Linked DNA regions of Homo sapiens: regions 2, 3, 4 and 5 are each linked to region 1. The links are contacts of gene promoters, found by promoter capture Hi-C in blood cells and fetal thymus (Javierre and others, 2016). All regions are on one chromosome and are shown on one strand. Each heading gives the region's core, a stretch centred on a gene start or on the middle of the fragment in contact. The rest is flanking DNA. Distances are from core to core; before and after follow the strand shown. Region 1 holds the start of PLCH1 (phospholipase C eta 1). Region 2 overlaps ARHGEF26 (Rho guanine nucleotide exchange factor 26). Region 3 overlaps LOC101928236 (a long non-coding RNA gene). Region 4 overlaps DHX36 (DEAH-box helicase 36). Region 5 overlaps GPR149 (G protein-coupled receptor 149).

Region 1 (4,518 bases), core at 1,645-4,144:
CGCTTAGGAAATGAAGAGGGTGGGGGTTGGGAAGGATGCCTTTCACCATTCAATGGCATTTAAGAAAAATTGATGCTTTCTTAGCACTTTTAATGCTGGGAGGACATTAAGTCAAAGAATCACAGCAAAAGATTTTTGTAACTACTGTACAGATGGATGTCCCTGTGCTTGAAGAGGCAGGGCTAATTCAACCCCAGACTTTTCAGCCAGGCGGATTTCAACCTTGTATTGAGCTACCAGCAGGAGTTCTTTATACTTGGAAAAGTGGTAAATCCTTACTAAAAGATCATAGCTTGCATGACCAAGAGATCCTCTAGAAAAGGTACTTTACTACCATGTAGGATGTTTGTCTTACCTGCCCAAAGAAGTTTTAATGAAGATCTCATTTTCTCCAGTTCCCCTTTAACCAGTGAAAGAGGAGGGTATTATTTGTTTTGTTTTTCTATTTATTCTTTGGTAACCATGGAAGAGTTTGTGTAACCTAGAGAGGCTGCTTATTACCCACTGTCTAATCCCTTTGTTATTATTCCATACTCTGATTGTCACAAGCAGGAAAAATAGTTCTGTCCTGCTTCTAAAAACTTAGCAATGTAACACATTTTCTTGTTTTTAGTGATTTTCTCCAATTAATTAATTAATTGTTTTAGTGATTTTTCTCAGATAAATAATGTTAAAACGACTTGGAGAGAAAAGCTACATTAAAAGATTATGGATGTATAAATGTCCTAAACATTTAAGAACATGCATAATTATGATTCATACCAACTTCAGAATTATTACCTTTGGGAAGGGGTGGGGGTAACGAGTCAGGAGTTGGGGTTTAGCTATATCTGTAATGCTTTATTTAAAAAAGAAGGGCTGGGGGGAGCAGGAGTATTACATGGTATATATCCTGTTTTTGGTAGGTTTGAAATATCACACAATTTAAAAATTTAAAAGTTTACAAAATTATGGGAGTTGATTAAAACTATCAAAATAAAGAATGCATAGCAAACAAGTGCTCTTATTATGAACTTTGTGTCTGAGTTTATTTCAACATGTGCATCTGCATTTTTTCAGACTCAAGAAAGACAAACACCGGAGGTTAGGGGGTGAACTGCTGCTGTTGAGGGATTATCTTGGTGGTTTTTTTTTTTTTTTTTTTTTTTTTGGCTTTTCTATTCACCATGGAGGTTACCAGCAAAACAAATCTCCAACAAGCTTGTTTACAAAATATAAAGCAGTTTGGAGGCAGAGGGTTAATGACTTAATTTCTTATAAATTGAGGCTTGTGTATGGGCATGCAAAAAAACAAAAACAAAAACAAGTAAATTTGGGGAGGTTTCTTTCTATAGAGGCAAAGGACCTTACCTACATTTTTTCCAAATTGATTTCTTCCTGGTACTATTGGCAGGAAGAAATTCAAGTGGGTATTCTGGTGGCTTTTTTCTTTTTTCTGAGAGTCTAGGATTGTTTTCAGGACAAAGTTTCTTCTTGCCCATGGTGCTTTGCTGTGACATTGTAATTGCCTCTGTTGAATTGAATAATACAAATGGGTTGTTTCTATGGTATCGGCTAAGTGGGATGAAAAGGTGAAACCCTAGATCTTGCGCTGAGAGGTCACAGTGCTACCACCCTCCACACTGTCTGTCAAAGAGAACAGGCAGCCAAGGCCCTGAGCTCCAATCTCAGGCACTCATTTGTAACTTACTCGTTTGTAACTTCCTGGGCAAATTCACGCATGAAAAAAGAAAATGACTTTAGTTTATGTTGTCACTAAGCCCAGAAAATCCCTGCCAACCCCATGCTGCCAGCTTTCCTAGGACATTCTTATTGGAGGATTATTTTAAACTGAAAGGTGAGTGAAGAGCTGCGTCCCCACTCCTTCCCAGCCAGGCTTTGAACTAACAATAGGGCAGGTTGAATGAAGGCTGATAAATGTAAATCCTGGAATCCAGAAGCCGGATCACACCGCGGCCGTCTAGGCCAGCGGCGGTTCCAGCATCCGCCCCAAGCTGGTCACTCATCCTTTCAGTGCATTCAGTAGATTTCATCGTTTCATCAACACTTGAGTGCCTGCTTCGTGCAAGCTTTCCTCTGCCACCGCCGCCTTCTTACTCCCGGCAGGTTGCCCGCTTGAGTCAACCAGCCACTAAACGGATCTAAGTGAATAAGTGGCCTGTTAATGCCAAGGAGTAGCATTTCCAAATGAAGAGACTGGGGGTAAATAAAAGCAAAGTGTTACCATTTACACGCTCTCAATTTTAGTTGCACTTCACTCAGAGTAGATCTCTTTAATTTGCGGCATCGACAGATGCTATATTCTTAGAAATTTTTTTTTTTTAAAGGAGGTAAGACGGGCGTTTGAGAACACTTTTTACTTTGGTGCAAGTTGCACGCAGTTCCCATTCACTCAGAGTAGATCTCTTTAATTTGCGGCATCGACAGATGCTATATTCTTAGAAATTTTTTTTTTTTAAAGGAGGTAAGACGGACGTTTGAGAACACTTTTCACTTTGGTGCAAGTTGCACGCAGTTCCCATTCCCTGCGCCCTTCACTTCCAACTTTGTTTCTCCAACTCCTTTACCCCCCACCACCGAGGCCCTCTGGCTACAGCCCCGAGGGGTTACCCTGGGTTTCGAAACTTTTGAAACTTGCGGGGGAGTAAAAGTACTTCATTCCCAGTGCTTCTGGCCCTTGCCAAGCGGGGAGCCCCGCAGGAGAGTGTAAGCCAAGGGTTCCAGGTGCAGCCTTGGGGTTCCACGTGCAGCCCTAGGGTTCCGTACACCCATCCCGCCCGGGCCAGAGGAGGCAGCAGGCGCTCCAGTCCGCTCTCCGCAACTCCAGTTCCTGATTTCCTCGGAAGCTGCGGGGCCGAGAGGGAGGGGGGCTCCTGTGTGAGCGTGAGGATTTGAATGAGAAAGCAGGTTGTGGCGGCGGCGCCCTGCTCTTCCCCGCTCGTCTGGGGCTTCTGCTGGCTAGTGGGGAGAAGTGCTCTTCTAGGGGGGCTTTTCTGGCCCTTGGCAGGGGTTTGGAGTTGGAGTCACAGGGGCCAATAACTCATCACCCCAGCACTTCGGAGGTGGCTCCTTGTGCCACGGACTCCGAGGAGTCCTTCAGCTACTGAACACTCAAAGCTGAGGAGGTCAGTGCTTTCGGGGGAAGAAGGGGCCCAGGAGAGAAGGGGGTGTGCAGGAAAAAGAGAACTGGTACGCCAGTCCGATGAGCGAGTGAGCAGGTGGCCCAAGTTCCTTTCTCGGCAGCCACAGCCGGCACACGCCTGTTTAGGACTGTGAGTGCTGTGCGTGGGGATCCCCTAAGGCCCCGTGCGGGGAACTGGCCACGGCCGCTCTTCAGGGTCCCATAATTCAGAAGGATGAGGGTGGGTGTGTGTGTCCGCGAAATAATGTAACTCTCGGGTCCCTTGCGGTGGTGGTGGGTGGCGTTTCGCCCGGTGGAAGGTCCAGCCTCGCTGCAGGATGCTTCACCCTCACGCGGGGTCCCGGGACCCTCTCTCTGACCGCCAGACGCCGCCAGGAGAGCAGGTCCGCGTTTCCCAGCAAGGGGAGTGCAGCGTCCGTTACACTTGGGGAGTCTCACAGCTTTTCCTGCGCCCGGTGACCCTGCTCAGGACCTCTTAGAGACTAGGTGTGCTCAGCGCGAGGAGGATATACTCCATTGCCCTTTCCTGGGAAGAACCAAGAGCGCCCGAGCGGCGCGGGGTGGTGGAGGCAAACCCCGGCCCCGCGGCGGCACGCTCTGCGCCTGCGCGGCGTTTCCTTGGCGACTGAGCTGCGGGTCCGAGACGCCACCCCGCGAGCCCCTAAACCCAGTTCCCTGTTGAGCGTCTGCGACGCCCTCTCCCCTCCTTCCCGAGGCTTTTTCTATTTGTTTCCTTCTGCGAATCAATTTGTGATCACATTTTGACGTTGAGAGTTCAGCATTAAAGCAATAACCAACTAAATTAAAAAAAAAAACCCAACTTTTCCCTTCCCTTGTTACCGTTTTGATCACGGACAGAAGAAAATGGTGAGAGATTAGTTATTAGGGCAGCAATTGAAATCCCCCTCTGTCCCGAAAAGGGGAGACGAATAAAACATTTACTTCCTGGTAAGGAGTTAGAAAATTCAGTGAAGTGATTGTTCTCGAGCGTTACAAGAACAAATCTGTGCCTCCTAACCCAGGTGAAGAGCAGAGCTTGTACAACCCAGCAGCACCCATGTCCTGTTTATTGGCATGTTTATGACAAGGAGATGCTCTGCAAAAGGGACCAGAGTATAATGCCAATGAAAAGAAACAAAGGATTTCCCAGAAGAGGCGGTAGTTTTTTTCAGTTGCCTCAGCGTTTTGGTCACCTTTGGGGTTAAAGTCTTCTGCAGAGAATGCTTCAAGAAGCCTTAACAGAAGCCAGTTTTCTCAAGCTGGTCATTTTCTTTTTCTTTTTTTCTTTTTTGAGACGGAGTCTGGCTCTGTCGCCCAGGCTGGAGTGCAGTGGTGCGATCTCGGCTCACTGCAACCTCCGCCTCCTGGGTTCAAGC
Region 2 (4,518 bases), core at 933-3,432, 1.5 Mb after region 1:
ATGACAAAACCCACTTTATGACAAAACCCACAAAACCCTTAATATGGATTAAACTTAACAGGTTTCTTCTATATGTAGATAACCTTAAACAACTTTAGAAGAAGGCCCAAATTAATGAATAGAAAAGCTTGATATTATCAAGATACCAATTCCTCCTAAATTAATACATAATTTAAACACAACCCAGTGAAAACACAAGCAAGGGTTTTTTGAGAGATGGCAGGGAGTAGAAATAGTTGAGTTGATTGTAAAACACGGAAAAAAAATAAACATGCAGAAATAGCCAGAAAGATTGTGGAAAAAAAAAAGAATAAACTAGCCTTATGATGTATTAAAACATACTGTAGGGAGGCCAAGGCGGGCGGATCACAAGGTCAGGAGATCGAGACCATCCTGGATAACACGGTGAAACCCCGTCTCTAAAAATACAAAAAATTAGCCGGGCGCGGTGGTGAGCGCCTGTAGTCCCAGCTACTCAGGAGGCTGAGGCAGAAGAATGGCGTGAACCTGAGAGGCGGACCTTGCAGTGAGCCGAGATTGCGCCACCGCACTCCAGCCTGGGCGACAAAGTGAGACTCCGCTTCAAAAAAAATTAAAATTAAAATTAAAAAATTAAAAAATAAACATACTGTAAAGCTGCAGAAATTCAAAGACTGGGACAAGGGCACGAGTTGACTGATGAATTGTGAAGCAGAATAGTGGGTTTGCGAGTTGACACAGACATGTCTGGGGATATAGAGGTGACATTTCAAATCTCTAAAAAAATTAATGGGTTAATCAATAAATAATATTGGGACATTTGGGGAAACATATCAAATATTTTTTTAAAATGTTGATCCCAATCTCACTCCTTAAACCAGGATATTTCCTTGGACCCAAGCTCTGGGTACATAAAGAGTTGTGAAGAAAAACTAAGTGACAAGACAGGTCTTTCTGCTGGATACAGACCTTTAACGGCCTGCCTTGTGGTCAGAGAGGTGCTGTTAAACATGTACATACCTTAGGGCAAGTTCTCATCTTAATCCTTATTAGCAAGCATTTTAGATACTTAATACGGATGAACAGGAATGGAAAATAGGCTAGCTTACCAAGATGCACCCAGGATAGTGAAAGGAAGGATGGTGATGGGGAGGCAAGGGAAAGGGTTAGACTGCACAAGCCAGCTTTCCCACAACCCACGTCTCTCAGCCCCAGCTGTAGGTGTAACTCTCACGTACCCGCTTACATTGTTTTAAAACTCTGTTTTATGGCCCAAATCCGACAGATGGAAACCCAAGCAGCACTTCCAGTTCTTCCTTTTGTAAAAAGGTTTAATTTAAAAGAAAAGATGCTATTGAGATTTATCACATCATTGATATTCATATGATTTTTGGCATATATTCTCAAGATAGTGACATTTATTTTTTACCTATTCAGTAGTTTCCTTTCCATAGGCTTTAGAACATTCACATAGCTTTTCTGTCCCGAAAAAAATATTTACTAGAATGTGCTGGTGCCACAACAAATGTTTCCTGAGTTAGCAGCTGCCTGCGTTTTTTCAGACCCTTGTGCTTACAGGCCAGTGAAATGGCTTCCGAAGGCCACCATGGCCCATCACCCCACCAAATTAAACACCTGGATTTCACCATTATTTCTCTTTGCATGTATACAGAATCTAGTGACACTGAGCAACTGTGAATCCTGAAACTCTATCTTCTAATGCCTTCTGTGACATTTCTAAGTCATTCTTCTTTGGGGACACTCTCCAAGATCCTCTTCTAGACTGTCGTGCATTAAATCCCTCTGAGGAATTTAATGGCTCTGACATTCCCCCCCAGTAGCACTGATACACAGGAGTTAATGGGGTTTATGAGATCAAAGGAAATTCTTCCTACTTTCCTCCAATATATGTATGAGAAAAAGTGTTCTGTAGATTTCAACTTGTTTCCCTTCTCCTTCTAAAAAACATGATTCCTAAACCGTCGCACTTGATCGTGTGTTTAAATGGAACAGAAACACTCTAGTCAAACTTTGCTGGGATGAAGGACATTGAATTTATGCTGAAATTTATTTTAAGTCAAGGAGTTAAAAATTTTTTTTCACTTGACTGAGGTTGATTTCCATTTCAATTTGGTTTTAGAATTATACTACTAACATGTTTTTAGTGGAATAATATACAATTTTAAAGGAATGAAATATGGCACAGCAGGTAAGAGTAGAGCCATGATTTGGAATGTCTGGTAAGAAACCCAATTCTAGGCTGGATGCAGTGGCTCACACCTGTAATCCCAGCACTCTGGGAGGCAAAGGCAGGTGGATCACGAGGTCAGTAGATCCACACCATCCTGGCTAACATGGTAAAACCCCGTCTTTACTAAAAATAGAAAAAAAAAATTAGCCGGGCGTGGTGGCAAGCACCTGTAGTCCCAGCTACTCCGGAGGCTGAGGCAGGAGAATCGCTTGAACCCAGGAGTTGGAGGTTGCAGTGAGCCGAGATCATGCCACTGCACTCCAGCCTGGGTGACTCCGTCTCAAAAAAAAAAAAAGAAAGAAAGAAACCCACTCACTCACTGGCTTTGTGAACCAAAGCAAGTTACTGATCCTCTCTGTGCTTCAGTTTTCTCATCTGTAAAGTGGGAATAACAGTACCAACTTGACTGGATTGTTGAGAGGATTAAATGAGATAATACATTTATTACCTCATTGTGTGTAAGGCACTTACAATCATGCCTGACTTACAGTAAATGTCAGCTATTTTTTTTATTTTCTTAACAGAACGCCATCCATTTAAATTGCCTGACATTTTGTTAAAAGCCTGATAATTATATGTTTTGCAAATGCACAAGTGGACCAAGCATAATTAGAGCTAAATACCCATGTCAAGAAATCCACAATTTGGCAAGTGCTCAGACCAGCAAAACAAGGCACAATATTTATCCAGAAACTGATTTCAAATAGGCTTACTTGCTCAGTTCCTCAAGCTAATTCTGAAGTCTAACAAACATGCCACATACATCCTATTTCATTGTTAATAATATAACAAATAGTGGAGATGAGGATCCCCATTCATCAGTATGACTGCCACCAAAAAAGATGGCCAGTGACCCAGAAAAGGGCCAGGAAGCCCCATCCCTGTCACCAAGGGTCACCAGATGCCACAGCCCAGCACTTCTGTGGCTGCTCATGGGATGCTCTGAACCCATAGTCCTTGAAAAAGAGGAGATGGACAGTTCTGAGAGGCTGTCACCACCTTTCTGAAGCTCTCTCCCTGGGATAAGCTGAACTAAGCAAGCCCTGAAGAGCAGGCACAGCTTCTTAAGTGGGTAACAAGGTTATCCAAATTATACAGCAACCCCACACTCCAATTCAGGAGTACCACACTACTGACGACATCAATAAAAAGGAAAAATATACTATTTATTTCACATTTTTCAGCAACAATGTTATAGTGTCTCCTAGTCATTTAGGAATAGTGAAAAAAAAAAAAAACTGCTACTACAACGTGTACACATGATTTACACCAATTTATAAAGAATAAAAATTGACCAATAGTTTTTCCTCACTCACTTGCCGCCTGACATGGGTTTCATGAGGAGGGAAAGGCATAGAGTTAAAGGCATTTATTCCTAAACTGCTCATGTTCTGGAGGCCATAAATTCATGTCTGGTCCTAGAGCGTGCCGTACCTTCAGCTATGTAGCAATTACGTAAAGGTTTAAAATCATTTTTTAAAAACAATAAAATATTCTAGAAGCAGAAGGGCAATAATTTGATTTACGGCAAAATCTTTAGAGAGAGAACACAATACCAAAAATAATCTTAATGATAGCATGTATCAGTTACTTAGCAGGACTATTCATATTCACTGTAGTAAGAGCTTTATGTGCATTATCTCATTTAATTCTCACAGAAACTCCATGATGAAGATGATGTTATTATCCCCATATTACAGATAGAACACTGAGGCTCTGAGAGACGAGAAGTAATTTGCCCAGGATTTGAGCTCAGTTTTCTGACCCCAGGCATCGATATTGTGCTTCTCAGTAGTGGCAGCTTTCAACATTTAACAGCAATGCCAACTCTCCTTACAGATGCAGGGGAAACAATACCTCATAACATCAGAGGAATCAAGGCTGCAAATGACAGCGGAAGAAAAAAAGGAGCAAAAAGGAAACAGGGCTCCCATTTCTTTTCCACCCCATCTTGCCATCTTGAATTTAGAACTCAATTCCAAAATGGTCAGAAATAAGCAAGCTTCATGTGTTTCAGGAACAAAGGAGCTTGCAATCATTTTTACTGCCTTTCCTTTAGCCAGGATACTCTTGACTTCCCTAGGAACGAGTTTATTCTGCAGATGAAACAGGTATCAGGTGATTTTCAGCTTTCTATAATAGGAAAGAGCATTCTCATGGAAAAAGCAAAAAATGGAACCAAACCAGGCCATGAACCTTTCAAGGGAGCCTGCACAGCTTTGAGCCACTGGGTGTTCAAACTATTTGGGAAAATCCAAATTTGAACTTAAGTCCTTGACCTTATGATA
Region 3 (4,518 bases), core at 1,292-3,791, 1.5 Mb before region 1:
AGTAATACACTCCAAGTCATGGTGCATAGCCCTGGGAAGGGAGGATGTTGTTACAGCAAGTTGGCTCGAAGGCACCTGCCTTCCATATGTCCTCTTGCCCTAAGGAATTTCTTGCACCCTGGCCATGCCACATAATGGACAGGCAAGCTGACTGTTCCACTGTAGCCTCTTCTCTCTGATCACCCATCTCTCCTAGCTTGCATCTCCTCTGCTCTAGTAGAATGAATAGCCTAGCAAATCTTATGCCTAAGTAGAGGTCACGATGGGGACAGTCTCTTTCTTCACTTGGAAATGGGAGTGGGAAGCAGCCCCTTAGTGATGGCAGGGGGGAAATCACTCCACCCTACTTACTCCCCAAGGACAGGGTGTTAAGGGACAGAGGAGGTGGGTGGGGACTGGTGTATAGTTCTTTAGCCCCTTAGGAATACTCTGGAGAAAGCACCAGACCCCAGTTACTGTTTTTAGCTCTGGGCTCTGTGTCAAATACAGGGCAACAGAAAAAGGCCCCTCTGCCATCCTGTTATTCTCATAACTTAATTTCCCTTATCATGGTGGAATTCCCTTCTTCCTAATCCTCTGAAAGCAGATAGACTCTCATTTTCCGTGATAGATGAAATGAGTTCTGACCAGCAATCACTGAAATATGCCACAGGAAATTTCAAGTTTCTTTCTAAAGATCCTATGATTCAATAAAAACATCAAAAGAAACAGCAAGTCCCATTTATGAATTTAGCTAGATGATTAAAACTAATTCATTATCCTTGTTTCTGAGTGAATCAAATTTTTTTCAACAAGTTGATCTCTTATTAACCAAATACTTATTTTCTACAAGTTAGCAACAACTGAATCATTCATTTTCCCTTCTACTCCATCTTCTGTTCAACTCTAAATTATTTTGATCAATATCTTTATTGCAAAAATGGTTTCTGCCAATGAATTTTGCTACTATCTATGCTATTTGTAATTTTAGATGCATTTAATCTGAGTGGAATTTGGATTTCACAGTTGTGGCAATATGCAAAGCTCTAGTGATAGTCAGGAATCTTTGCCCTGAAAGGATTTAGGGTGTGTGTATTTAGATAGTTTACATCTTTAAAAAACAAAACAAAACAATTTAGAACCTTTGCGGAAGCATCAATTTAATAGTAAAATGCTGCCTCCTTCTGGATAAATTGTATGAAGCATGATAAGCTTGTTAAACTGCTGTAAAGGTATATCATCTTATGAAAAGAAATCCTTAATAAATTTCTTAAATTAAAAACTAATAAAACTAGAAATCTAGAGTAAGCCTTGAAAGATTACCTAGATTCTGTCTTTTAGTCAGTAAAACATTTAAATTATTTATGTTATATAGATGATTTGATTATCTGTCCTATTGAAGATCTTTTAATAGTAACTGAGAAAGTACAGAATAGATGACAAAACTGAAATTAAAGGTCCATCTCTACAAAAAATTTAAAAAATTAGTAGGGCACGGTAGCATGCACGTGTAGTCCTGGCTACTGAGGAGACTACGTGGAGGCTGAGGTGGGAGGATCATTTGAGCCCAGGAGTTGAAGGTTACAACTCTATGATCACACCACTGCATTCCACCCTGGGCAACTGAGTGAAACTCAGTCTCTATTTTTAAAAAAATAGAATTAGCATAATTTTCATGTTCACATCTTGAAATGTTTAAATACTCAATTGTCATTGTCATTTATACATATGCACATATTAATACTATATACCTAGAAAAATGAGTGTGTATATGTGTGTTTAGCATATTCAATGAAATGCCTAGGTTCTAGTCTTACTTCTATAGCCATATATCATGTGAATTTGGGCAAACCACGTAATCTCTTTCATCCTAGTTTTCTTATCTGTAAATTGAGGATAATAAACCCATGGTTATTGACTTTGAAAACTGTATGTGAGGCTCACTAAAATTAATAAAGCAGGCAGGGTGCAGTGGCTGATGCCTATAATCCCAGCACTTTGGGAGGGCAAGGTGGGAGGATCACTTGAGACCAGGACTTCGAGACCAGCCTAGGCAACATGGCAAGACCCCTCTACAAAAATTTTTTTTAAAAAAACTAGACAGGTGTGGTGGCACATGCCTGCAGTCCCAGCTACTTGGGAGGCTGAGGTGGGAGGATCGCTTGAGTCTGGGACGTCAAGGCTGCAGTGAGCCATGATTGCCCCACTGCACTCCAGCGTGGGCAACAGAGTGAAACTCTGTCTCAAAATAAATAAATAAATACAATACAATAATGCAATACAATACAATCAACAAATCCCTATGTGAGGTAGTAACCTAATTTCTTATCCTTAAGGCTTTATATGATCACATGTCCAAAGTGAAAGAATAGAACCATATCTGTGACCAGTAAGAAGAAAAATGCTTAATGGTGTCTTATTTATTGAATGACCACAGCTAGTTTGGTTGCACTCAAATCAATCAACTCTATGATCTAAACAGAGAGAGAAAGACGTTACAAATAACCCCAGACCACAATTATACAAAAGCAAAATCCACTCTCAATTCTCCAGAGATGATTTACCCCCACAGAGCCAAAAGAGCAGGTAGGTCTAACCAAAGCTGTTCTTGCCAGGGACCCAGAGAGAGCCTTGTTTGCACAGCCTCATCCTTGAGCCAACATTCCCAGACTCTTCCTAGAGCATTGCCTAGATCTAGACTCTGCCTAGATCATAGGATGATCAAGTGCTGACTGTGTCCTTGTTATATTAAAGGGTCTTTCATGATTCTCTGAGGATCCTTCCACCAAAGCACTACCCAAAATCCAAACCAGCTAAAAGACCAAAGGATACTCCAAATGCTCCAATTCCTATTCGGCCTCTCTCTAGTGGGCATGAAATTTAACCACTCTGTGCCCCAATTTGCCTATAAAATGGGTGCAACCACAATACCTACCTCATTAGGTTATTGTGAAGATCAAATGAATTAATACAAGCAGAGCATGCAGAACAGTACCTGGCATATAAGCATTTAATCTATGTTGGCTGCTGCTCTCAAGGCCACTATTATTATAATCATACTAATGTGCTTGTGCATGGCACTTACTTATGGACAAATGATATGTCTCTCTCACAGCTACTTCATTTGCTAAGACTGAAGCCTGATCCTTTAAATCCTCTGTCTATCAATGATTAAAATACGGTCCTATATTAGCTTCCTAACATTACATATATGCTTTAATTTTTCAATGGCAAAATAGTAAATTATAACTATGGGTGCTATTTGGGTTTTTTGTTTGGTTGGTTGGTTGGTTGGTTTTGAGACAAGGTCTCGCTCTGTCACCCAGGTTGGAGTGCCGTGGTGCAATGTCGGCTCACTGCAAACTCTGCCTCCTGGCTTTAAGTGATTCTCCCACCTCAACCTCCCCGAGGAGCTGGGACTACAGGCATGCACCACCATGCCTGGTAATTTTTTGTATTTTTAGTAGATATGGGATTTCACCATGTTGGTTAGGATGGTCTTGAGCTCCTGGCTTCAAGTGATCCACCTGCCTCGGCCTCCCAAAGTACTGGGATTACAGGTGTGAGCCACTGTGCCCAGCTTACGGGTACTATTTGATGGCATACTAGTCAAACCAAGCAACAACTCTGTTTTATAGCCATATAAGCAGATGACCCTGGAATAAAAGCTGGGACTTACGCACATTTCAAGCTGTTAAACATTTTTTATCATATTCCAATTTCGTTTCACTCTGAAAGCAGAAGTGGCTATCATATGATTGACTCAAAACTATTTGGTATATCACCCTAAGATAAATACCAGAAGGCACCAAAACTGTTTTGAATGAGGACTAAAGATGACATTTGGCCACTAGATGGCATTTAAATTATGTAGCAGGCTTTAGCTCACACTTCAGCTATTTAAAAGCTTAATTGGTTTGCATTTAGCCCAAGCACTGGCGATTCATGTATTTTCATGCTGTGGGAATTCTCGGAAGTTGGCTGAATTGAGACTTAGGAATATCCACAGCAGGTTTTACAGTGACAGACATAAAATCCTTTTGGAGTTATGAAATGAGATTAGCAATTTTAAATTCTTGCCTGAAATCTTCAGATCAGTTTTTTTCTTTTTGGAAGTAAATTATTGAGGGTAATATTGAGAGACTGGATAACTTACATCTTTTCAATCCATTTCTGTGCAACATGAAGTCTTAATAAGCACAGAGCAGCATAATTCATGGGCAGCTTGTCTCAGTTGGCCACGGGTACCTCTCAGCGTCTACCTTTTTACTGGGTCCAGCAATCTAATCATATCTACCATTTCCTTTTCAATTAATTCCTAGGAAAGACCAGCCGTGGACTAGTACAACATCCCAGAGGCGAACAGAATCAAATCTAATCCCCACTGAATAATAATTTGTTAAAAAACTGCTATAAAGAAGGGAGAACAGTCCAGTCAGTTATTGTTTTTCATTTCCCACAAGGAAATTAACGGTAAAACATGTTAAATTTCAACTGTAAGATTTTAAGGTAGCCATGAAGATGAAATGAAATAGATAC
Region 4 (4,518 bases), core at 1,189-3,688, 1.4 Mb after region 1:
TTTTAATTTATTACACTATATCTTAACATATGATTACCCTATGTAGAATAATAGGATCTCTCATCCTTCTCTGTTTTCTCAACCTTATTTTATTTTATTTTACTTTATTTTTTACTTTTCATAGCACTTGTTACCACCTGACATCTGTTTGTCTTCCCCTCCCAGGCCAGTGTAAGTTCTTGAGGATAGGATTTGTTTTGTTCACTCTGTGTCTCTTGACTCAGAACAGTGCCTGGCATTCTAAAGACTTCCAGTAAATAAACTTCTGATTGGATGAATCACATTTCACTTCTGAGTATTTACCAGCTATAATTTCAGTGTTCAAACTTAAAACTTTTTCTGATATATACACATCTATGTATGTATAATGTGTTAGAATAAGTGGGGAATATATATATATGTATATACATATATATATATATATATATATATATATATATATATATATATATATTTTTTTTTTTTTTTTTTTTTTTTTTTTTTGAGAGGGAGTCTTGCTCTGTTGCCAGGCTGGAGTGCAGTGGCGCAATCTCGGCTTACTGCAAACTCCCGACTCTCGGGTTCAAGCGATCCTCCTGCCTCAGCTTCCCGAGTAGCTGGGGTTACAGGCACCCACCACGCCCAGCTAATTTTTGTGTTTTTAGTAGAGATGGGGTTTCACCATGTTGGCCAGGATGGTCTCAATCTCCTGACCTCATGATCCGCCTACCTCAGCCTCCCAAAGTGCTGGGATTATAGGCATGAGCCACCATGCCCGGCCTAAGTGGGGAATTTTTAAAAGGTAGGTTTTCAAGTTAAATTGTTTTATACATGAAAATAACCCCTAACATCCCTTTGAGGTAGTAAGATGACTTCGTTTATACAGTGAATATTATTATTAAAAATATTAATGTATACAATTTTGAGGAAGAATGAAACCCAAATATGAGGTTTTCTAGATAGCTTTGGTTTAGATATTCAATGACTTTATTTTAATTATTTGAAAGGAAGTAATTTTAAAATACAATATTCTCTTCCTTGCTCCTAAAATGGCATACAAAACTTGTTCTGCAGACAAAGCCATATTTATGAATTATATAAATTTGTAATGTCCTCAATAGTTGTTTAGGCCAGGAGTTTGCTTCTGTACTCAGTAGCCCCACATATCAACATTATTTTAATTCTTCTCCATGGAACTTATAAGCTGTCTCTTCTTGTTTATGTCAATATGTTTTTCTTTAACAGTGCTTTGGCTTTGTTCTTTATAATTTGGTGCACTTATCTCTTGCAGGTTGGTAGATCCAGATATCCAAACTGCCAGTATTGGATATGGCAAAATTTAGAAAGCATTAATATGTTTGTTAAAAATAGCTATGTTCAGTTTGGTCGAATTTTGATTAATATCTTTTTTCAGACTTAGTCAACATGTGATATTCTTTATTTTCCCTTTTGAAATAGGAATTGGTAAATTTAATTGATAACCATCAGGTAACAGTAATAAGTGGTGAAACTGGTTGTGGCAAAACCACTCAAGTTACTCAGTTCATTTTGGATAACTACATTGAAAGAGGAAAAGGATCTGCTTGCAGAATAGTTTGTACTCAGCCAAGAAGAATTAGTGCCATTTCAGTAAGTAATCTCTTAACTTATTAAAAATTGTCTTTTTAAAAGTAATCTTGCTAGAACCTACTGATTCTGAAGGTGTGGAGTGATTCTTAATTAGGCTTAGGATTGGTGACTATGAAAGCAAATAGTTGCTTAACATGTTTAATAATAAAGCCCAAAAAATTGAGTAACCTCTCTCTTAACAGATAATAGATATTTATGAATTCAAGATAAAATTGATATCCAGGCAAATTTCAGTACATGTTCACAAGAATGAAATAGATAAAATATTTATAGAATTGATTACAAGCTTCAAATAATCTCCATCATTTGATTCTTTAAATTTTACTACTTGGTTTATTTAACTTTTTTTTTTACTTCTGTCATTTTTTGAGTATGTAAATACACTGAATGGTGGTGAAAGTGGGAAACCTTGTTTTTTTTTTTAAGCTGCATTTCTGTAGTCAGTGATTTATTTATTTATTTTTTGAGACAGGGTCTTATTTTGTCACTTAAGCTGGAGCGCAGTGGTGATAACACGGCTCAGTGCAGCCTCAACCTCTAGGGTTCAAGTGATCCTCCTGCCTCCGCCCCCCAAGTAGGTGGTACTATAGGCATGTGCTACCATACCTGGCTAATATTTGTATTTTTTGTAGAGATGGGGTTTTGCCATGTTGCCCATGCTGGTCTCGAACTACTGGGCTCAAGCGATCTGCCCACTTCAGCCTCCCGGAGTGCTGGGATTACAGGCATAAGTCTCTGTGTCCAGCCATAGTCAGTCATTTTTGAATGCAGCTACTCAGTAAGAGGAAATTTATGAGGAAAAATAAGGTATTGTTTCTGGTTTGTCAAGTCCAAAATTTTGGGAAGGCATACTTAAGTAACAGTTTATAAGTAACTTTTAGTTCAGGTTGACTATACGAAATCCAGAATGCTCCCAAATCCAGAACTGTTTGAGTAGCAAAATGGAAATGCTCACTAGAGCATTTCACATTTTGAATTTTCAGATTTGGGATGTTTAACAAGGGCAAGTATAATGCAAATATTCCAAAATAGAAACCGGAAACACTTCTGGTCCTGATCATTTTGGCTAAGGAATACTCAGCCTGTACATTGATTTTGTTGTCGTCATCGTTTTTAGTTAGATGACCTAGTTAAATATGTGAGTTATATATTTTTTAAAGGTGTTTGGGGTTTCTTGTCATATTTCAGTGTGCATAGTGAATTTATTTATGCTATATAATTCTGTGTATAAATTATAAAGATTTGTGTTTGTCTTTGGTTTTATGGCAGTGCTGCTTATCACATGTCTAAGTCATTTAATATAGAATCTGTGGTTAAAAACATTACCAATTATGACAGCACTTGGCAGTAAATACAGTATATGTTTTAAGCTTTGGTTTCTAAGAAGTACTATAAAGAAAGAGCAGTAGACTTCACCCCTTTTTAAAAAGAAGTGTGTAAATTTATGGGATACAAGTGCAATTTTGTTACATGCATAGGTTGTGTAGTGGTTAAGTGAGAGCTTCTAGGTTGTCCATCACCCACATCATATACATTGTACCCATTAAGTAATTTCTCATCATCTGTCCTCCTCCTGTCTTCTCTTCTGAGTCTCCATCGTTTGCCATTCCACACTCTATGTCCACATATACCTGGTTTTTAGCACCCACTTATGTGAAATATGATATTTTGTCTTTTTGTGTCTATTTCGACATGATTTCACTCTTACAGCTAAATAGTATTCCATTGTGGTGTATATATACACCACATTTTCCTTATCCAGTCATCCATTGATGAGCACTTAGATTGATTCCGTATCTTTACTGTTATGAATAGTACTGTGATAAACATGCAAGACAAGTATTTTTTTTTTTTTGACACATTGATTTCTTTTCCTTTGGGTAGAAACCCAGCAGTGGGATTGCTGGATCAAATGATAGCTCTATTTTTAGTTCTTTGAGCAATCTCCATACTGTTTTCTATAGAGGCTGTGCTAATTTGCATTCCTACCAACAGTATGTAAGAGTTCTCTTTTATCCATGTCCTGGCCAAGATCTATTATTTTTTGACTCTTTAATAGTAGCCATTTTGACTGGGGTAAGATGATATCTCATTGTGGTTTTAATTTGCATTTCTCTGATGATTAGTGATGTTGTGCATTTTTCATATACCTGTTAGTCATTTGTATATCTTCTTTTGAAAAATGTCTGTTCTTGTCTTTTGCCCTCCTTTTAAGGGGATGATTTGTCTTTTATTGTTGTTGTTTGAGTTTCTTGTATATACTGGGTATTTGTCCACTGCTGGATGAATAGTTTGCACATATTTTCTTCCGTTCTGGAAATTATCTGTTTACTCTGTTGATTATTTCTTTTGTTGTGTAGAAACTTCTTAGTTAATTCCCATTTGTCTATTTTTATTTTTGTCGCCTGTGCTTTTGAGGTCTTAGTCATAAATTCTTTGCCTAGACCAATGTCCAAAGGAGTTTTTCCCTAGGTTTTCTTCTAGTAGTTTCAGTTTCAGGTAGTCTTCACCCTTTTATGGGGACTATATTCCAGGAAATTGCATAAAATTACAGAATGGTGAAAAATAAACCACTTTTGTCATAACACACTTTTGTAGCTAGACTTAAATATTTTCACTAATATATAGCAGTTACTGTATATGCTGATAGTAGGAAGAAATGCTAAGTAGGTAATTTTTCTCTTCTTTTTTCCACCATCTGTTGGAATTTGAGTAGACAGGTTAATGTGGTCTGTCAGTGTATACTAGATATACTTATTGGAAAGTTTTACTTGTAAAGTATTATTTCTTACAAATTATGCCATTTTCTATTTCTAATACCTTATTATCACTGTTCTGTCACAGAATAACTGTTGGTTACTTTTAGTTGTACAAATCAGTATTAGATTATAACATTTCATCTTTCCAAAT
Region 5 (4,518 bases), core at 684-3,183, 1.4 Mb after region 1:
CAACATTCTCCTCCTCAGGATGTTGAGGCCCGTATCCATCGCTCTGGATGCACAGGTAGAGCTGGACAGGGATTTGTATATGTTTTTATCAACCAAGAGAAAGAGGTCAACTAAGATATGTGGAACAAAAAGCAAGAATTACTTTTAAATGTGTAGGTGTTCCTTCTACAATGGATTTAGTTAAATCTAAAAGCATGGATACCATCAGGTTTCTGACTTCCGTTTCTTATGCTGCTGTTGATTTTTTCTGACCATCAGCTCAGAGACTGATAGAAGAGAAAGGGGCAGTGGATGCATTGGCTGCAACTTTAGCCCACATTTCTGGTGCATCAAGTTTTGAACCACAGTCTTTGATCGCCTCTGATGACCATGACTCTGGAAAGCCTAGAGGAAATACAGGATGTCACCTGTGCCTGGAAAGAACTTAATAGAAAGCTAAGTAGTAATACAGCGTCTCAGATTACCAGTGTGTGCCTCCTGAAAGGAAATATGGGTGTTTGCTTTGATGTTCCTACAACTGAATCAGAAAGGTTACAGGCAGTGTGGCACGATTCCAACTGGATACTCTCAGTGCCAGCCAAATTACCTGAAATTGAAGAATATTATGATGGAAACAAGTCTTCTAATCCCCAACGGAGGAATGGCTGGTCAAGTGGCTGGTCAGGCGGGTCAGGCCAGTCAGGTGGTCCATCTGGTGGCCTATCAGGTAGACAGAGTCGACAAGGGAGTCACTCAGGAAGTCGACAAGATGGTAGAAGATGAAGTGGGAATAGAACTCGATCAAGAAGTGGGGGCCACAAATGGAGTTTTGACTGAATATTTGATACTTAATCTACCAGTGTGAACTTGCCTATTTGTGCCTAATTATGTATATTATCCACCAAAAATTAGCTCATGATAGTTGAGGTATGTGTCTGCTATTTGCACAGAAGTTGGTCGTATTTTTTTTAAAAAGTGTTTCACAAGAATAGCTATAAACAAATCTACCTATTCAGTTATACCTTTGAATTAAAAAACCTCCTTTTATTATCTTTTTAGAAAAAATGAGAATATTAGATAATTAAAGACATTTGAAAAGATAACATTTTGTTCTTCATTTTATACAGCTATAAAATTGGATTTTGAGGGGTTTCTATTATTCCTTCCACTGAAATTATCTCCTCTACTTCTCTTAATTGTGAACCCTATAAAATAACAAAATTTATTTGTCCATTAAATTATTTATCCCTGTAATTTTAGGACTGTAAGGAGCCAAACAGATTGTCTGTCTTTTGCTATTCAAAGTATGGTTCCTACACCAGCAGCTTCAGCATCATCTGAAAACTTTTAGTAAGTGCAGAATCTCAGGTTCAACAATAGACTCCCTGAATCAAAATTTGCATTTGCACAAAACAAGTTTTTAATTTAATGAAGTCCAGTTTATCAAATATCCTTTTATGGATCATGATTTTTGTGTCAAGTCTAATAACCCCTTCCTAGCCTTAGATCTCAAAGATTTTCTCCTATATCTTTCAAATAAAATTTTTAGTTTTACATTTTACATTTAAGTTTACAATTCATTTTGAGTTAATTTTTGAATAAACTATGAAACAGATGTAGCTGGTTATTTTTTTTTTTTTTTTTTTTTTTTTTTTTTTTGTATGTGGATGTCTAATTGCCCTAGCACTGTTAATTGAAAAGGCTAACTTTCCTCCATTGAATTGTTTTTGTACCTTTGTAAAAAGTCAGTTGGGTATATTTGAGTGAGTCTACATTTGGATTTTCTATTCTGTTCCATTTTTCTGTGTCTCTATCCCTCTAGCAACAACTCAATTTTGATTATTATAGCTATATTGAAATTAGATATCCTGATTCCTCCCATTATACAGTCAACTCTCTGTATCTGTGGGTTCCTATATGTGAATTCAGCCAACTTTGGATCAAAAATATTCAGATACAAAATTATGCCTGTACTAAACACATACAGACATTTTTCTTGTCAGTATTCCCTAAACAATATAGTAAACAGCTATTGACATAGCATTTACATGATATTAGGTATTATAAGTAATCTAGAGATGATTTTAAAGTATATGCGAGGAGGTGCACAGATTATATACACATACTATGCCATTTTATATAAGGGACTTAAGCATCTGAAGATTTTGCTATCCACAGGAGGTCCTGGAACCAATCCCCCACAGATACCAAAGATCAACTGTATTTATTTTTTCAAAATAATTTTAGCTATTCTGGTTCATGTACCTTTTCATTTTAATTTTAGAATGATCTTGTCTATAACTGTGAAAATATCTTGCTGGGATTTTTGTAGGAATTATATTAAATGTATAGATCAATTTCTACAGAATTGATATCTTTACTGTCAAGTCTTCCAGTCTATGAACACAATATGTCTCTTCATTTATTCAGATTGTCAACTTTTTAAAGTGTCATGTAGTTTCCAGTATATTAGTCCTATACATGTTTCATAAGATTTACATCTAAATCTTTAACCTTTTTAGCAATTGTAAATGGTACTGCATTTTTTATTTTGATGTCCAAGAGTTCATTGCTAGTCATAGAAGTACAAATGATTTTGTACATGTATCTTATATCCTGTGACCTTGCTTAGCTCAATCATTAGCTTGAGGATTTTTTGTCGATTCCTTGGGATTTTCTACATAAATCAATCATGTCATCTGCAAGTTGCAAAAGTTTCATTTCTTCCTTTCTGGTCTGTACAATTTTTGTTTCCTTTTCTTTTCTTTTTTATTTTTGAGACAGGGTTTCACTCTGTCACTGAGGCTGGGTGCAGTGGCATGATTATGGCTCACTGTAGCCTCAAATCCCCAGGCTCAAGTGATCCTCTCACCTCAGCCTCCTCAGTAGCTGGGATTACAGGCACACACCACCATGCCTAGCTAAATTTTTTTATTTTTTGTACAGATAGAGGTGGAGGCTACAGTGAGCTGTGAGCATAGCACTGCACTCAGCCTTGGTGACAGTGCAAAACCCTATCTCAAATAAGTAAAGAAATAAATATTGATGCAGCCTTGAATTTCTGAAAGAAACCCTGCTTGATCATTGTACATAATTCTTTTTATAGATTGCTGAATTCTATTTGCTAATATTTGTTAAGGATGCTTGCATCTATATTCATGAGTGATACTAATCTATAGTTTTATTTTTTTGTAGTGTCTGTAGAGTTTGATTATTAGGGTAAAACTAGGTTTATAAAATGAATCAAGAAGTATTCCTTTGTCTTGTATTTTCTGTAAGAGATTGTGCAGAATTTATATTAATCCTTACTTAACTATTTGCTAGAGTTCTCCAGAGAAAACATAAGGCTGAAGAGATTTCTTTTTGAAGGTTTTAAACTACAAGTTTAATTATCTTAATAGTTACAGGGCTATTCAAATTACCTATTTCGCATTTGGCACATTGTAGTAGTTTGTTTTACAAGGGATCAATCTATTTCATGTAAGTTGTCAAATTTGAATGTGTAAAGGTGTTTGTAGTACTCCCTTATGGTACTTTCGATGGCTGCAGACTCTGCAGTGATATCCTGTTTCATTCCTAATACTGGTAATCTGTGTCTTCTCTTTGTCACTGCTGCTAGAGGCTTTTCAATTTTATTGATCTGTTAAAAAAATAACTTTTTGTTTCATTAATTTCCTCTTTGTTTTTCTGTTTTCAATGTCATTGATATCAGCTTTTATCTATTTTCCTCCTTTATATTTGCTTTCAGTTTATTTTGCTCTTCTTTTTCCAGATTATCAAGGTGGGAGGCTAGACTATTGGTTTAAGACTATTACTCTTTTCTAATGTATGCATTTAGTGCTTTAAATTTCTCTCTCAGATCTTCCCTAGCACCAATTTCAATATGTTGTATTTTCATTTTCATTCACTTTTTTTTTTATTTCCCTCAAGACTACCTTTTTAACTCTTAGATGATTTAGAAGTGTTTAGTTTCCAAGGGCTTGGAGATTCTCTTGCTATCTTTCTGCTATTTATTTCTACCTTATTTCTGTTGTGGTCAGAGAACATACTGTTTAATTGTGTTTCCTTTAAATTCCCTAGGGTTTGTCTTATGGCTTAGATAGGGTCTATCTCAGTATATGGTTCATGGGCACTTGAAAATAATGTGTATTCTGTTGTTGTTGGATGGAGTGTCCTATAAATAAAAATTTTCTATCTATAACATTTTCTACAAATGTTGATTAGATCTTATTGATTAATGATGCTCTTCTACACTCTTGTTGATTTTCTTTCTAGTTATCCTATGGATTGTTGCGAGAGAGGGGTTGAAGTCTCCAACAGTATTTGTAAATTTGACTATTTCTCCTTTCAGTTCTATCAGTTTGGCTTTATATATTTAACAGTTCTGTTGCTTGCTCTATACATATTTAGGATTGCTATGTCTTCTAAGTGGATGGATCACTTTATTATTATATAGTAATTTTCCCTGTCTCTGATAACTTTCTTTTGTCTGAAATCTATTTTATGTGATATCACTATAGCCACTCTTGTTTTCCCTTT

The links. The method cuts DNA at HindIII sites, captures the fragments that hold promoters and counts their contacts. A CHiCAGO score of 5 or more calls a contact.
Region 2: a fragment that was not itself captured here is called in contact with the fragment with the promoter of PLCH1 in region 1 in 1 of 17 cell types (neutrophils); the score reaches 7.4 in neutrophils.
Region 3: a contact is called between a fragment that was not itself captured here and the fragment with the promoter of PLCH1 in region 1, in 1 of 17 cell types (naive CD8 T cells). The highest score is 5.5, in naive CD8 T cells.
Region 4: a fragment that was not itself captured here is called in contact with the fragment with the promoter of PLCH1 in region 1 in 2 of 17 cell types (non-activated CD4 T cells and naive B cells); the score reaches 6.1 in non-activated CD4 T cells.
Region 5: a contact is called between a fragment that was not itself captured here and the fragment with the promoter of PLCH1 in region 1, in 1 of 17 cell types (naive CD8 T cells). The highest score is 5.3, in naive CD8 T cells.

Annotation. Positions count from the first base shown.
Region 1 is chr3:155,743,447-155,747,964 of GRCh38, reverse strand. It overlaps PLCH1 (phospholipase C eta 1), which reads left to right and starts at 2,894. Exons shown (of 23, transcript NM_014996.4): 1 at 2,894-3,125. RefSeq lists enhancers at 2,932-3,141, 3,036-3,657. The HindIII fragment of the contact is 4,475 bases long and covers 2,072-4,518 here.
Region 2 is chr3:154,230,850-154,235,367 of GRCh38, reverse strand. The region is part of intron 11 of ARHGEF26 (Rho guanine nucleotide exchange factor 26); the gene reads right to left. Among named protein-coding and RNA genes, the nearest start is that of DHX36, 91 kb to the left of the region's middle. The HindIII fragment of the contact is 4,105 bases long and covers 130-4,234 here.
Region 3 is chr3:157,201,170-157,205,687 of GRCh38, reverse strand. The region is part of intron 2 of LOC101928236 (a long non-coding RNA gene); the gene reads right to left. Among named protein-coding and RNA genes, the nearest start is that of CCNL1, 43 kb to the right of the region's middle. RefSeq lists a silencer at 3,737-3,786. The HindIII fragment of the contact is 2,695 bases long and covers 1,194-3,888 here.
Region 4 is chr3:154,306,743-154,311,260 of GRCh38, reverse strand. It overlaps DHX36 (DEAH-box helicase 36), which reads left to right. Exons shown (of 25, transcript NM_020865.3): 5 at 1,438-1,608. Among named protein-coding and RNA genes, the nearest start is that of DHX36, 15 kb to the left of the region's middle. The HindIII fragment of the contact is 1,084 bases long and covers 1,897-2,980 here.
Region 5 is chr3:154,348,434-154,352,951 of GRCh38, reverse strand. All of the region lies in intron 3 of GPR149 (G protein-coupled receptor 149), which reads left to right. It also overlaps the pseudogene DDX50P2. Among named protein-coding and RNA genes, the nearest start is that of DHX36, 26 kb to the right of the region's middle. The HindIII fragment of the contact is 5,725 bases long and covers 1-4,518 here.